Regions from separate parts of the Homo sapiens genome. Here all the other regions are linked to region 5. The links are contacts of gene promoters, found by promoter capture Hi-C in blood cells and fetal thymus (Javierre and others, 2016). All regions are on one chromosome and are shown on one strand. The core of a region is centred on a gene start or on the middle of the fragment in contact, and the rest is flanking DNA. Distances in the headings are between cores, read along the strand shown. Region 1 has its middle 150 kb from the start of TNFRSF19. Region 2 overlaps MIPEP (mitochondrial intermediate peptidase). Region 3 overlaps MIPEP (mitochondrial intermediate peptidase). Region 4 overlaps MIPEP (mitochondrial intermediate peptidase). Region 5 holds the start of TNFRSF19 (TNF receptor superfamily member 19).

The links. Contacts are between HindIII fragments. The CHiCAGO score rates a contact against its expected background, and 5 or more counts as called.
Region 1: a fragment that was not itself captured here is called in contact with the fragment with the promoter of TNFRSF19 in region 5 in 1 of 17 cell types (M2 macrophages); the score reaches 5.9 in M2 macrophages.
Region 2: a fragment that was not itself captured here is called in contact with the fragment with the promoter of TNFRSF19 in region 5 in 1 of 17 cell types (M2 macrophages); the score reaches 6.5 in M2 macrophages.
Region 3: a fragment that was not itself captured here is called in contact with the fragment with the promoter of TNFRSF19 in region 5 in 1 of 17 cell types (M2 macrophages); the score reaches 6.2 in M2 macrophages.
Region 4: a fragment that was not itself captured here is called in contact with the fragment with the promoter of TNFRSF19 in region 5 in 2 of 17 cell types (M2 macrophages and erythroblasts); the score reaches 8.0 in M2 macrophages.

Annotation. Positions count from the first base shown.
Region 1 is chr13:23,719,511-23,722,210 of GRCh38, forward strand. No RefSeq gene overlaps it. Among named protein-coding and RNA genes, the nearest start is that of TNFRSF19, 150 kb to the left of the region's middle. The HindIII fragment of the contact is 3,546 bases long and covers 1-2,700 here.
Region 2 is chr13:23,787,815-23,790,514 of GRCh38, forward strand. The region is part of intron 16 of MIPEP (mitochondrial intermediate peptidase); the gene reads right to left. Among named protein-coding and RNA genes, the nearest start is that of PCOTH, 100 kb to the right of the region's middle. RefSeq lists an enhancer at 2,081-2,130. The HindIII fragment of the contact is 814 bases long and covers 944-1,757 here.
Region 3 is chr13:23,759,507-23,762,206 of GRCh38, forward strand. It overlaps MIPEP (mitochondrial intermediate peptidase), which reads right to left. Exons shown (of 19, transcript NM_005932.4): 17 at 590-711. Among named protein-coding and RNA genes, the nearest start is that of PCOTH, 130 kb to the right of the region's middle. The HindIII fragment of the contact is 1,912 bases long and covers 419-2,330 here.
Region 4 is chr13:23,805,025-23,807,724 of GRCh38, forward strand. MIPEP (mitochondrial intermediate peptidase) reads right to left here. Exons shown (of 19, transcript NM_005932.4): 16 at 926-1,045. Among named protein-coding and RNA genes, the nearest start is that of PCOTH, 82 kb to the right of the region's middle. RefSeq lists an enhancer at 1,898-2,047. The HindIII fragment of the contact is 5,872 bases long and covers 1-2,700 here.
Region 5 is chr13:23,569,046-23,571,745 of GRCh38, forward strand. TNFRSF19 (TNF receptor superfamily member 19) reads left to right here and starts at 1,367. Exons shown (of 10, transcript NM_148957.4): 1 at 1,367-1,803. The HindIII fragment of the contact is 1,879 bases long and covers 1-1,375 here.

The DNA.
Region 1 (2,700 bases), core at 196-2,695, 150 kb after region 5:
AAAAGAAATTGGATCACGCAATTATGGAGGCTGGCAAGTCCAAAATCTGCAGGGTTGGTTGGCAGGCTGAAAACCCAGGGAAAGACAATGCTGTGGTACAGGTCTGAAGGCAGGCATGTGGACACCCAGGAGAAGCTGATGGTGCAGATAAAGGCAAGAGGCAGTATTCTCAAGAATCCCCTCTTGCTTGGGAAGGTTGGTCTTGTTCTATTCAAGCCTTCACATGATTGGACAGGGCCCACCTATATTTGGAGGGCATTGTTTTACTCAAAGTCCACTAATTCTAATGTTATTTTCATCTATAAACACCCTCACAGAAACACCAAGAATAAATAATGTTTGTCCACATATCTGGGCACTGTGGCCCAGTGAAGTTGCTACATACAATTAAGCATCACAGTGTCTGTCCTAAGAATGTGTGGTGCACAGCCCTGAACATGGGACTGTGATGCTCCGTGATGGTGCAGGGTGTGTAATACATCACTGCGTTACAGACCTATAGACTGTACCGCAGAAAGAGTGAATGTGAACCAGTGTAACCTGTGGACCCTGGGTCAGTGTAGGTTCATGGGTTGTAACGTGTACCGCTCTGGTGGATGTATGCACATGTTACACAAGAGTGTGTAATACATACTCTTTCTACAGACCTCTGGGGTTGGTGCCCTGCAGCATCACACATGGCCTGGTCTGGCCTCCTGTGCTCCTTGGGGGGCAGCTGACCATGAGGTCAGATGAGCATGATGTGCCATCCCATTGCTCTTCCCATCACCCTGGCCAGGCTTTGTGAATAATCTGTGTTCCTTGCTTCTATTTCCTCATCATTTGTTCCTTACTTTTTCTCTTGGCTTCTCGCTCCATTCACCATTCCCTCAGTTCTAAAATTCCCTGGGAGCCCAGTGTCCTCCCTGATGCCTTGCAGTGCTGAGCGCTGTCACCATTCTACCACTCAGAACCCTTTCCTCTCTCTGCCATGATCCATGCTCTCTTGTGGTGTCTTCAGCTCAACAGTTTGTAACAGCTGCATCAGGTGCTGTATTAGTCTGTTACAAACAAATGTTACAAAAAAATGCCCAGGACTGGGTAATTTATATTTATTTATTTATTTATTTTTGAGACGGAGTCTCACTCTGTCGCCCTTGCTGGAGTGCAGTGGTGTGATCTCAGCTCACTGCAAGCTCCGCCTCCCAGGTTCACACCATTCTCCTGCCTCAGCCTCCCAAGTAGCTGGGACTACAGAAGCCCCCCACCACATCCGGCTAATCTTTTTTTGTATTTTTAGTAGAGACGGGGTTTCACTGTGGTCTCCATCTCCTGACCTCGTGATCCGCCTGCCTCCCAAAGTGCTGGGATTACAGGCATGAGCCACCGCACACAGCTGGGACTGGGTAATTTATAAAGAAAAGAGGTTTAATGACTCACAGTTCCACATGGCTGGAGAGGCCTCAGGAAACTTACAATCATGGTGGAAGGCGAAGGGGAAGCAAGGCACGTCTTACATGGTGGCAGGAGAGAACGAGTGAGGGGGGAGACTGCCACAAACTTTTTTTTTTTGAGACAAGAGTCTGGCCCTGTTGCCCAGGCTGGAGTGCAGTGGCATGATCTCAGCTCACTGCAACCTCTGCCTCACAGGTTCAAGCAATTCTCATGCCTCAGCCTCCCGCATAGCTGGGACCACAGGTATGCACCACCACACCTAGCTAATTTTTGTAGTTTTAGTAGAGATGGGGTCTCACTATGTTGCTCAGGCTGGTCTAAAACTCCTGGGCTCCAGCAATCCGCCTGCCTTGGCCTCCCAAAGTGCTGGGGTTACAGGCATAAGCCACCACATCCAGCCTGCCACATACTTTTAAACTATCAGGTCTCATGAGAACTCATGCACTATCACAAGAATAGCATGGGGAAAATCCCCCCCATAATCCAATCACCTCCCACCAGGTCTCCTCCGACACGTGGGATTGGGTGGGGACACAGAGCCAAACCGTATCAGATGCTGCAGGGGCTGGGGACACTGAGACCACTCAGACCTGGTGTCTCTGTCACTCTTCTGGGCTCTGTCTGTCTCCAGGACCTCCCTCCCCTTCCATGGTATAGAAGGAAAGTGCTGTAATGTGCAAATTGCACAGGAACTCCTTAAGACATACATTATCCACTCAGCAGTTTTAGGTTCGCAGCAAAATGGAGTGGAAGGAACAGAAATTTCCTGTGCACCCCTCCCCGCTGTCTCCGCCATATCGGCATCCTGCATCCAGAGTGGTAGACTGGTTACAGGCTATGAACCTACACTGATGCGGCACCACCACCCAGAGTCCACAGGTTATGTTGGTTCACATTTACTCTTGCTGTGGTATGGTCTATAGGTTTGGACAGATGTCCGATAATCCTTTTTACATTTTGGCATCCTTGGGTAGCTCGTCTTGCAGGAATGGACTTGCTTCAAAGTGGAGGCAGGCAGATCCTTCAGATGGGTATATGGAGCCCTGTTTTCAGTTGCTTTTCTAATTCTCTCTTATCGTTTACCTCAAAATCTTCCTGAGGTCTCGCTTCCTTTTAAAATCCTTGTCTACTTTGCAGCATCACTCTGACACTCCATTGATTCCTCAGCACCTACTGACTACACGGTTAGGAGTGCAAGGGTAGAATTCATGTTTTATTCATCTTTGGGTCTGTAGCACCCAGCAAAGTGCTCAGTAAATGCGCAGT
Region 2 (2,700 bases), core at 101-2,600, 220 kb after region 5:
AATGGATGTTATATCTAGAACTAAAGCCATGATGACAGGAAATTTCTACTCTGAGCCCAAGTTAAGTTTAGTCCTGATCCTCCACCTCAGCTGCACTCTTCAGGTAAAAAAGGGTCCCTATGATTACTATCATTTCCATGAGCGTGGCCTCTTTAATGGTTCACAGAGAACTGAATGGCCATACCACTGGGAGTCAGCTGGAGGAGGGTGGGTGTGCATATGTTTGTGTGTTTCCTCTTCTGATTTTAGAAGGAATACATGCTCATTAGAGAAAAAATGGAATACTGTGAAAAATATAAAAAAGGAAACTCCCACCCTTAATCCACGTGTGTGATCAATATTTGCTAATGTTTCAAAGTTTTCTTCAGTCTATTTTAAAAAGACAAAATCACACTATGTATACTTTCCTATCAGTTTTTCCCTAAACTTATTTATGAATTCTTTCTAAACATGAATGACTGCATATTATTTCATATGGGCCATATTAGGCTATGCTATGTTACAATGTGATCACATGAACCCTAAAATCTCTGTGTTTGCTCCTTGAGCATACAACATGTCATCACAGGTCAGTGGGCCCGTCTCGCACTATCAGTATTTAGGAACCCATGTTCTCAAGACCTCCACCAACTGGAATGTCATTGACTGCTGAACCAAGGGCAGGAGATGTGGACAACTGTATAGTAGCTCTCGAAGGCCACAGCCTAGGAATGATACACATCACTTCTGCTCACATTTCTTTGGTCATATTAAGTCACAAGGCCACAAATAACTGCAAGGGGCATGAAAGTGCAATTCTACCATGGGGCAGAGATAGGAGAGCTGGATTACTAGTGAGCAGGCCTAGTGACAACCACATGATGCGCACTAGTTTATCTAGCCATTCCTTGAATGCTGGATTCTTTCCAATGTTTTTGTACATGTTATGATGATCAGTTCACCAAGCTTTATTGGATTTCTATTTATTCCTTTAGAACAAATTCTTAAATGTTACATTATTGGCTTAAGGGATATGTAAACTCTTCAGGTTCTTGGTCCCTCCTTTTAAACAAATTTATCCTTTTATGAACAAATATAAAATTATCTATCTCAGTGGAGCAATCCTCCTACCTCAGCCTCCCAAGTAGCTGGGACTACAGGCATGCAGCAACATGCCCAGCTAAGTTTATTTTTTGTAGAGACATGGTCTCGTCATGTTGCCCAGGCTGGTCTTGAACTCCTGGGCTCAAGCAATCTGCCCACCTTGCCTTCCCAAAGTGCTGGGATTACAGGTGTGAGCCATTGCACCTGGCCAATGTTGGGATTTTTAAAAAATTGTTCTTCTGTTGTCATTGTTTTATTTGTATGAGCTCTTTATGCAGCAAAACGTAAACCATATGTCACAGATGTTATAATTTAAAAAAACCAGTTTGTTTGCCAGTACATTTTATTCATCATGTTTTATGAGAGAAGTTCAAATCTACTACTCTTTGCATTTGTGATTTCTTCCATTTCTATTACATTTACCAACCTTCTCTAAATGAAAAAGAGCTATCTGTCTATAGAAGCCTTTTTTAATGGCTTATGTTTTTCCATTTAAATGTTTACTCTATCTGGAATTTACTTCATGACAGTAAAATAGAGTAACAGAAAGAGCTCCAGTCCAAATGTCAGGCAATGTGTGTACTAATTCTGCCCGGAACACCTTAGGTAAATGCCTTAGTCCTCAGTCTATTCTGGCCCCATAGCATTACTCCAAAGTTTGGAAAGCTACGCAAAGCTTCTTAGCTTCAGCACAAAACTGAACGGTCATCCTGGCCTCTGCATTACCCAGAGTATCAGGTACAAATAAAGAGAAAGAAATACTGTACTTCTATTTGGCAAGCTAACATAAAAACAGATCTCACTTTCCATGCCCTTCTTGTTGACCCTCAGTTTCTCCCACCTGCCGGGTTTGGGGCTTTCCTCATCCTACGCCCTCGTGCTCTGCTGGGAATTCCCACCCTCCCCTCTACCCGCACTAGCAGTTCCACTGCGATCAGTCTTGAGACCTTTAACCCTGTGGATACCCATGACTATGGCAGCACTGCTCTCCTGGCTGTTCTCTGTATCCACTTTCTGCCCTCTTCTTTTTCCTCCCTTTTCTTCTGCTGAGCTTTCTAAAATCCAGTCATCAGCAAAACCACCTGTATTTTCCTCTGCCTTCTTTGAAGGTTCCTTTCACCTTTTTATTCTAAAAGAAACCCAGGTCTCTGCTAAGAACCATACTTCCCTTGCAACTTTTTCATGACACGGCTGGTTTCTCGCCAAATCCTGCATATGACTGGGTCTGAAGGCAAGTAGGTGTTGGCTCTGGTTTTCACTGCCAGTTCCTTCTCCTTCAGAACACTCCAACTCTGATTTTGCTGACAGTGGACCATAATCCTCTTTACCCTTCACTACTGCAGTCACTAGCAGAAGCGTCCGTCCTTCTCACTCACTCCTTGAAGATTTCTTACTTCTGTTTTACTTCACTCTCACCAATCCTACTCCTGTTAGAATTCTGATGACAGCAATGCCCCCAAAGCTAATCTTTCAAATGTTCTGTGTGGCAGAAAGAATAATGCCCTCTCCTCCAAAGATGTCCACATCCTATCCCTAGAACCTGTGAATGTCACCTTATTTGGGAAAAAAATGGACTTTGCAGATGTGATTAAGCTAAAGATCCTGAGGTGAGAAGGT
Region 3 (2,700 bases), core at 125-2,624, 190 kb after region 5:
GACAGCACAGGATCCCCTGCATCCCCCAGCCACAGCATAGAATCCCTCACACCCTCCAGGAAGCAAGGGATCTCCTGTACCTCTCCACCCAATGGAAGTTTAACCACTACCTGGCCTTTAGAAAGAGATTGGGAAAGCAGGACTACTGATCCTAGGCACCCCTACTTCCTCCCGACAATGCTCCCAGCCTCTCCAGTGCCTTGTTTTGCCTCCATTCTGTGGAAAGGGGTGGGCATCCCGTATCACGTGGTGAGGTCAGAAAAGCCAAGAAAACCCACAGGAGCAGCAGGGGCTGCTTCAGGTAGCACAGGAGCCCTCATACAAGGGTTCCCTCAGACACCACACAGCCACCTCTACACAGTGGCTGCAGGGTAGGGGGATGTCCAGGGCCACCGGTCAGCTGCGGGAAGCAGGAGCAAGCTTGGGTGGGAATGGCCAAGTGGGGCGAGGCTGTGTGGGGAGCCTGCCACTTTCTGCCAGGTTTGGCTGTGTTATGTGGGCTGCAGTTCTCGAGCCCGACTTCCAGATGTAATAGAGTGGGGAATTACTGTGGTCCAAGATGGGGACATTTTAGAACTTACCCCCTTACCTGTTGAAAGGATCCTGTAGAAAACACTCCTTCCAAACCATGGAGGCGACCGCTCTGGACATGAGGTAAGAGTAATATCTAGCACCATACCCCACGAGGTGGCTGAATCGCAGCTGCCAGGCCTGCCAAGAACAGAGAGACACAGCACGGGACACAAGTCAGTTTCCACTTGGAGAATATCACATGTGAGAACACAGTGGAGACACAGAGAGACCCGTAAATGCTTTCATTTGCATTTTACCCTAGAAGGCTACGTCACCTATGATATCAATATTTTCACATTTTATACACTGTTAGGGCTGAACTGTGTCTCCTGAAAATTCACATGTTGAAACCCAAAGCCATACCTCAGAATGTGACTTATTAGGAGACACAGCCTCCAAAGACGTGATTAAGTAAAAGTGAAGCTCTTAGACTGGGCCCTTGCCCAAACTCACTGGTATCTTGGAAGAGGAGGAAAGGTGGATGCCAGGGTGTGGGCACAGAGGAAAGGCTGTCTGCAAGCCAAAGAGGCCTCGGGAGAAGCCAGATCTGCTGACACCTTGGTCTGGACTTCCAGCCTCCAAAACAGTGGGAAGTAAATTTCTGTTGTTTAAGCCACATAGTCTCTGGCATTTTGTGAAGGCAGCCTTAGCACACTAAGACATACACAAAGAAAATTTTGTATCACATAAATATAATCATATATAGATGTATATGTTTTGCTCCAAATATATGGCTATTCTTCTTCATTAAGTGAGTTTAATTACACTGATTATAATACATTTTATTTCACATGACTATCTACAAAAACAGTAAAGTCAGGAGTTTATTTATTTTTAATAATTTAGTTAGTTCAGAGAGTTGTACTCTGCAATGATTCTCTGTTGCATGAACTGCTTTTCATGAACTAGTTTTTGTAACACAAAAACCTTCCATGTTTTTACCATAATTACATTTTATGACAAAACAAAAAGTCACAGAGCAGAAGAAAAATGGGACAGAATTTAAAAATCATTACTATACAAAGAGGGGTAATCTGGGAATGCATTCTTTTTTTTTTTTTTTAAGAAGAGACAAACGCTAAGAACCAAAGATAACCACCAGCAACTTGCCTCTCAGTGGAAGAAGGGTGAACAAACTGTTGTCCCTCCTTCTCTAAGCTCCTTCCACTTATTTTCTAATCATAAGAAGGAAGAAGCGGACACCTAATTGTTTTGTACAAGTTCATCACTTTGGGATTCACTTCTGTGACAGAAACGTAAAGACAGCCTAGAGACGGTGGCAGGAGTGCCAATGGTGGAGCCGGGTGGAGGTGCACATCTGTTCTGACCCACTTGGAACGCCTGGTCATCAACATTGGAGGAGAGAATTTGGAGTCTGGCACAGAGAGAGAGCATCCATTCTATCTCAGGACAATGTAGTAGTTATGATAGGAAAAGCCACATGGATTTTCATGGAAGGACACAGTTCCACTGGAAACTTCTTTTCCTACGAATACTGCTCTTTTTCTGTTGCTAAAGTGGAAAACATCTCCATTCCAATTCATCAGCAGGTGCAGGGCTATGCAAGCACGGCACACGAGCTTGCGATGGTATATCTGCTGTAACGTCACCCCAGCCAAGGCTGGGACTATGAAAACTGTCCTCAAAGGCTACACTTAGGACTTTAACATTTTTACTTTTCTGAAACAAATCTGACACAGCAATCATCCACTTTCTTCTGTCTTTATCTGACATAAACATTTCTTTTAAAAAACAGAAGCTTGGGCCGGGCACAGTGGCTCATGCCTGTAATCCCAGCACATCAGGAGGCTGAGGCAGCTGGGTCACTTGAGGCCAGGAATTCGAGACCAGCCTGGCCAACATGGTGAAACCCTGTCTCTACTAAACATACAAAAATTAGCCAGGCGTGGCGGCACAAGTCTGTAATCTCAGCTACTTGGGAAGCTGAAGCAGGAGAACTGCTTGAACCCGGGAGGCGGAGGTTGTAGTGAGCTAAGATCGCACCACTGCACTCCAGCCTAGGCGACAGAGCAAGAATCTGTCTCAAAAAATAATAATAATTAAAAAATAAATAAACAACTTTTTTAAAAAGCTTAACTTTTTTTTTAACCATGATAACAACACTCT
Region 4 (2,700 bases), core at 103-2,602, 240 kb after region 5:
AACATTTCTAACGACATTGTGGGAGACCTAAATCCAACTTACTTGAAACACCCCTATACCCCTGCACCTTTCAGTTACAAGACTCAATAAATTCCCTTTTCTGTTTAAGTCCGTGTGAACCACGTTTCTATCACTTGCAGCTGAGAAAGGCCTGGGTAACATTAAGTCAGTCACATTGCTAACTGCACCAAGAATCACACTGTTAATTGCACTAGGAGTCACGGTGCTCAACTGCTCCTTACACGAGCCTTTGAGTGATGAAAAAAGCCTGTTTGTTTTGAACCCCCATACAATCACTTAACTACCTAGATGATCTCAGACAGGACATATAATGTGTCTGTGCCTCCAAATGAGCCCCAAATACAAGGATATAATTTAATTTATAAGGTTATTTTGAGAGCTAAATTAGAGATCTTTTCCCAAAGGAATTAGATAGAGTCTGGCGCCTAGAATCCAATAAATGGTAACATTACTCCTGCTCTCTCTCCTGACATGGTACTCAACAAGATAAGATATGTAAAGCATCTATTATAATTCCTGGTACAATGTAAGATACTCAATACATGTTAATTCTCTTTGCAATGAAAATGATTCAGGACTGGTAATCACATTCATCTTACATCACTATTTTTCACATTGTAGAAAAATAACTAAAAAGAAGAATATAGACCAACTCCAATGGCCTTTTTAACCCCCACATTTCCAAAAAGGTACAAAAACACTGTTAGAGGGAGGAAAATAAGAACATATAAATGGGTAGTTGGAAATATTAAATGAACCAGGCAATTTCCAGCATTTGAGCCATGTGAAGCCTCAACATAAATGTAGGGATTTCAAGTTCTCCAAAGGGGAAGATAATCACAAGCTACAGAAGTAATAGCAGAACCACTCAATACACAAAACAGAAGCCAAATGCTGGACTCACAGTATTTGGAACATATGGTAGGCCATAGAATTTCTCTTGTGTTTCCTTGAGAATGTCTGTGGTTGAATTCCTCAGGGGATGCTTCCCATGGTAGATTTGATCCAGAGTGGCATAAAAGACCTAGATAGATAAAAACATCTACTTAGTTTTGGTCGTCCATCCTCACATCAAGATGTGGTTGACCAAAGATGCTATAAGTGCACCAGAACAACAGTTACCAATCACAGTTGAAAACAGTCACAAAAATAAACTTACATGGTTTGAAATGTATTTCATACCACATTTAAGACCATGCTAAAGATTAAAAGGAATGCTCTCAACCTTTTCATAAATAAGAATATTAAAGAATTTTGAACCATACCCATAAGATACTCTTTATGTACAATGGCAGCAAATCAAATATGTGACACAAAACTGGAATTTTGCCAAAATATATGTAGACGGAAGGCCAGGCGCGGTGGCTCACGCCTGTAATCCCAGCACTTTGGGAGGCCGAGGCGGGAGGATCACGAGGTCAGGAGATCAAGACCATCCTGGCTAACATAGTGAAATCCCGTTTCTACTAAAAATACAAAAAAATTAGACAGGCGTGGTGGCAGGCACCTCTAGTCCCAGCTACTCGGGAGGCTGAGGCAGGAGAATGGCGTGAACCTGGGAGGCGGAGCTCGCAGTGAGCCGAGATTGCTCCACTGCACTCCAGCCTGGGAGAGACTCCGTCTCAAAAAAAAAAACCAAACAAAAAACAACAACAACAACAAAAAAATCTATATCTATCTATCTATCTATCTATCTATCTATCTATCTATCTATCTATCTGTAGGCAGAAATATACAAAACCAGTTACAACTTTAGACCCGCTGGATCTAACAAATGTTGTTTGGTTTCCTCCTGGAATCCTGATATATCTTAAATGAGAGAAATGAAACGGTCAGAATTCTAGTTTTGTGATAAAAGGTGAAAGAAAATTAAATAGGTGTGGTGGGGGTAGAGAAAGAAATAGCAATGCAGCATCTCGTGAGTATAGATGTATCGAAGAATTCTGATGCAGCTGTTGGAGAGGTTGGAACTAGACTCCCACACCTGGTGTCAGGAAGTACAAAGGAAGCAGCTGCTGTATAGGGAGGGCTCAACTAGATGACCAGGGGAAAAGGAGCACTCTCCTCTGAGTAGAGGATATAGGCCACTGAAACACAGTGGGAGAAGAAAGCATTAAAGAAAGTTTGGACATGAAATCTGCTGTTTACAAAGTACTGAAAACTAAATTTTGCAAAGAAATCTAAAATAAACATAAAGCATTTTTTCACTGCAACATCTGACTCAAATATTGTTTTTCAACACTGACTTGAACATTTGACTTCATGCAGGCAAGTAGAAAATGCTTTATTTTAAAGGACAAATTTTGACACGCAATTATGCTTCTGATATGTATCTTTGTGATTCAGAAATGGGATTTGTAGAGAATGTGCAGCTGTTGACTTGAAAGAAGTGAGGATTAGTTTGGTTAAAAGAGAAAATTTAAATGACCTCTGGCTTCTGGCTGCATCTAGATATAGAATTATGGTTCTAAATTATAAAGTTAAGTTTAAACCTTCCCTAGAAAAATACAGACATTTCCTAAATATAAATATTGCTTTCTTCTAACTGGTAATCTAAACATATAGCTAAATATAGCTCTTTCAATTCTACATTTTATAATGAGTAACGATGCATAAAGATAATCAGGGAGGCCAAAATTACTCAATGTCTTACCTATATTCTAACAGAGTAAATTATCA
Region 5 (2,700 bases), core at 117-2,616:
TATAAGTAGAAAAATTATACAAGAAACATGGAAAAATCAACAGGACTATTTAAATGTTATACAGAACTTATGAACAGTTCAAACTAAATATTTTGCTATTAAAATTATTCAAGAATCATAGAAATCTGGAAATAAACACTTCATAAATAACGTTTTCAAATATCGCGTCAGGAAAAATTAGACAAAACCAGTTAAGGAGGGAAGTTACATTGAAAAAGACTGAGTTCTACTATCCCCTAAGTTTTGCAAAAATATTTTTAACTTACTTTCTAAAAGTTAGTGAGTTTCCATTATAAAATAGAAAAATTGTCTTCATTCCATGAAAGAACTGTCTGAAAATCAGAAAAGCACCATATCCTGGATTTCAAGGAAGATGAAACTTCTTCTTATCTTCTATTTTACTAAATACTCAAAATAAAATAATCATATTGTATTGAATCTGACATTGTTAAGGAAAATAGCTTAAAATTTTTAAATAATGAGCAATATATTTAATTTTAAAATACGAAGAATTAGGCTAAGGTGGTAATTTTTTAGTGAGTTGAAAGTCCAAACTATGAGTTCGGAAGAAACAGCCCTAAAAGGCAAATAACATGGCTTTGGAATAATCACAGGGCAAATGCTTTGTTCTACATAATTCTTCTTTTGTGAATTTTAAAATGCTCAACAAGTATTAATGAAATATGTCTAAGAAGTAGATATTGCTTTAAAATCTAATTTCCAGAGTCCCGAACTAAGGCAAAGATTGAGATTAAGTCTCCGCCCAAAGTCTTAAGTGAGCCAGTGGAAGATGGCAGTTTATTCATGAATTGTTGGTTATCTGCTGCTTAACTACTTAACACAACCCGGTTTGATTGGTAATCAGATCCTAATAATGTATGTTTCAAAGAAAGGGCAGTTTCCTTAAAATCCTTAAAGACTTGTCACTTTGAAAACTGGAATCAAAATGTGAAAATGTTATCGGTCCATCTGGCAGTGTCCTTGGGTGTTTTTTAGAGTGGTCTCATAGTGCTATTTAACTATGCTGAATATTTGACACCCAGTCTCTGTAGGAAATTGTGATTTTTATCAGCGAAGAGGCAATTAAATGCTGTCATTTGGCACGTCCATCCATCAGGGATCTTATCACCCAAGAAGCATCCAGCAGCAGTTGCTGTCCTTTCCAGCTGGCAGACAGATAACAGAAACTGTCCTGTGTGAGGCACAATAGTCTAACATGATTAGAAATCAGCCAAACTCTGGCTTCTCTTGAGCTATACTCCCCCACAGGCTGAATTATAGCTCTCCTACCAGTCCCACGGCGCTGAATGATGTCATGGGATCTGCAGTTCAGCGAGATGAAAGGGATAAAGCAGAACCCGCTGGCACTAGGAAAAGCTTCCAACACACAGTCCACAACACAGCTTGGGAACCAAAAAAGCTACAGATCCAGCCACTCAGCCCAAGCATGGGAGAACTACCAGCATTGCCTCATTGCAAAAAAGAGGAGGAAAACAACGTGATCCATGTTTAACAAAAGAGTCTGTGGACTAGGAGGTGGGAGGGTAACTACCTGCTGAAAGTGAACTTTCTTTGATATCCATGCATATATATAAACTCAGCCCTGCCTTTGATGTTCAGCAACTGATTCACTGATCAGATTACAGGCATTTCATCTCCCTGCTCGTCTGCCTTTGATCTGCATGGTTAATTTTATTTTCCTGGATTTGAAGTTTCGTCTGGGCTTGTGCTGACATACATTTTTGGGAAGGTAGAAGCATTTGGCACAGAAGTGCTGCCAGGAGAAACTAAGTTGCTGAACGGGTAAGTACTGCAAAGAGCTCAGCATGTTGCAGGTACTCTGTTTTAAGCTTTGTTATAGCTTTCACTGCATTTTTCGCATGTGTTCTGAGAAAAGAATGGTTTTAATTAATTTTTTAGAAAGCATTTATACAGCTGAATACTACATGATGCTGAATGTGTGTATCAGAGTAACTATGGAACTTGATGTAATTTTTAGTAGTTTGTACAAGAGGGTTTGCAGTCTGTCATACAAATTTTACTTGGAAATGAGTTGTACAAACAGGACAAAACAGAACAGCGCTCACTTTAGCATGCAACTGGTACTTCAACCCCTGAGATCTGTGAGCTATAATTGCTCTAAGTATTTACAGGTTACCTTATTTAGTAAACAGTCAGTGCAACTTTGCTTGTTGAAAATGCTTTCTTTGTTTTCTTATATAAAAGAGTAAAATGTATCTCTGGCAATACTGTTTCTTTAGTTTATTTATTCTCTCACTTCCAAGATGTAAATCTATCAAATACACTTCCTTATGCAGTTTGTACACTCAAGGGAATCACTGAAAAACCATCAAGTATGATTAAAGACTTTTATGTGTAAAACTGAAGAATTTAAAAACAGTGAGGATAAAGTTGCACTAAGTTTGGCTAAAAATACTCCAGTGATTTTCTATAACCTTTGGAAATAGCATAAGCCTTATTTACAGAAACATTCACAAGGTTAATATTCCTAAATTAACATTTACTTTACATTTATAGTGACAGCTGTTTTAAGTCAAAATTTGCCAACTGTTTATGAAAACTATCTGAGTAATCAACAGTTATTATGTTACATAAAGTATCTTAGTCACATTTTCACTTTAGCTAATGCCCAACATGACAAAACCAAATTATATTGCTGTACCGAATTTGAAAGTTAAC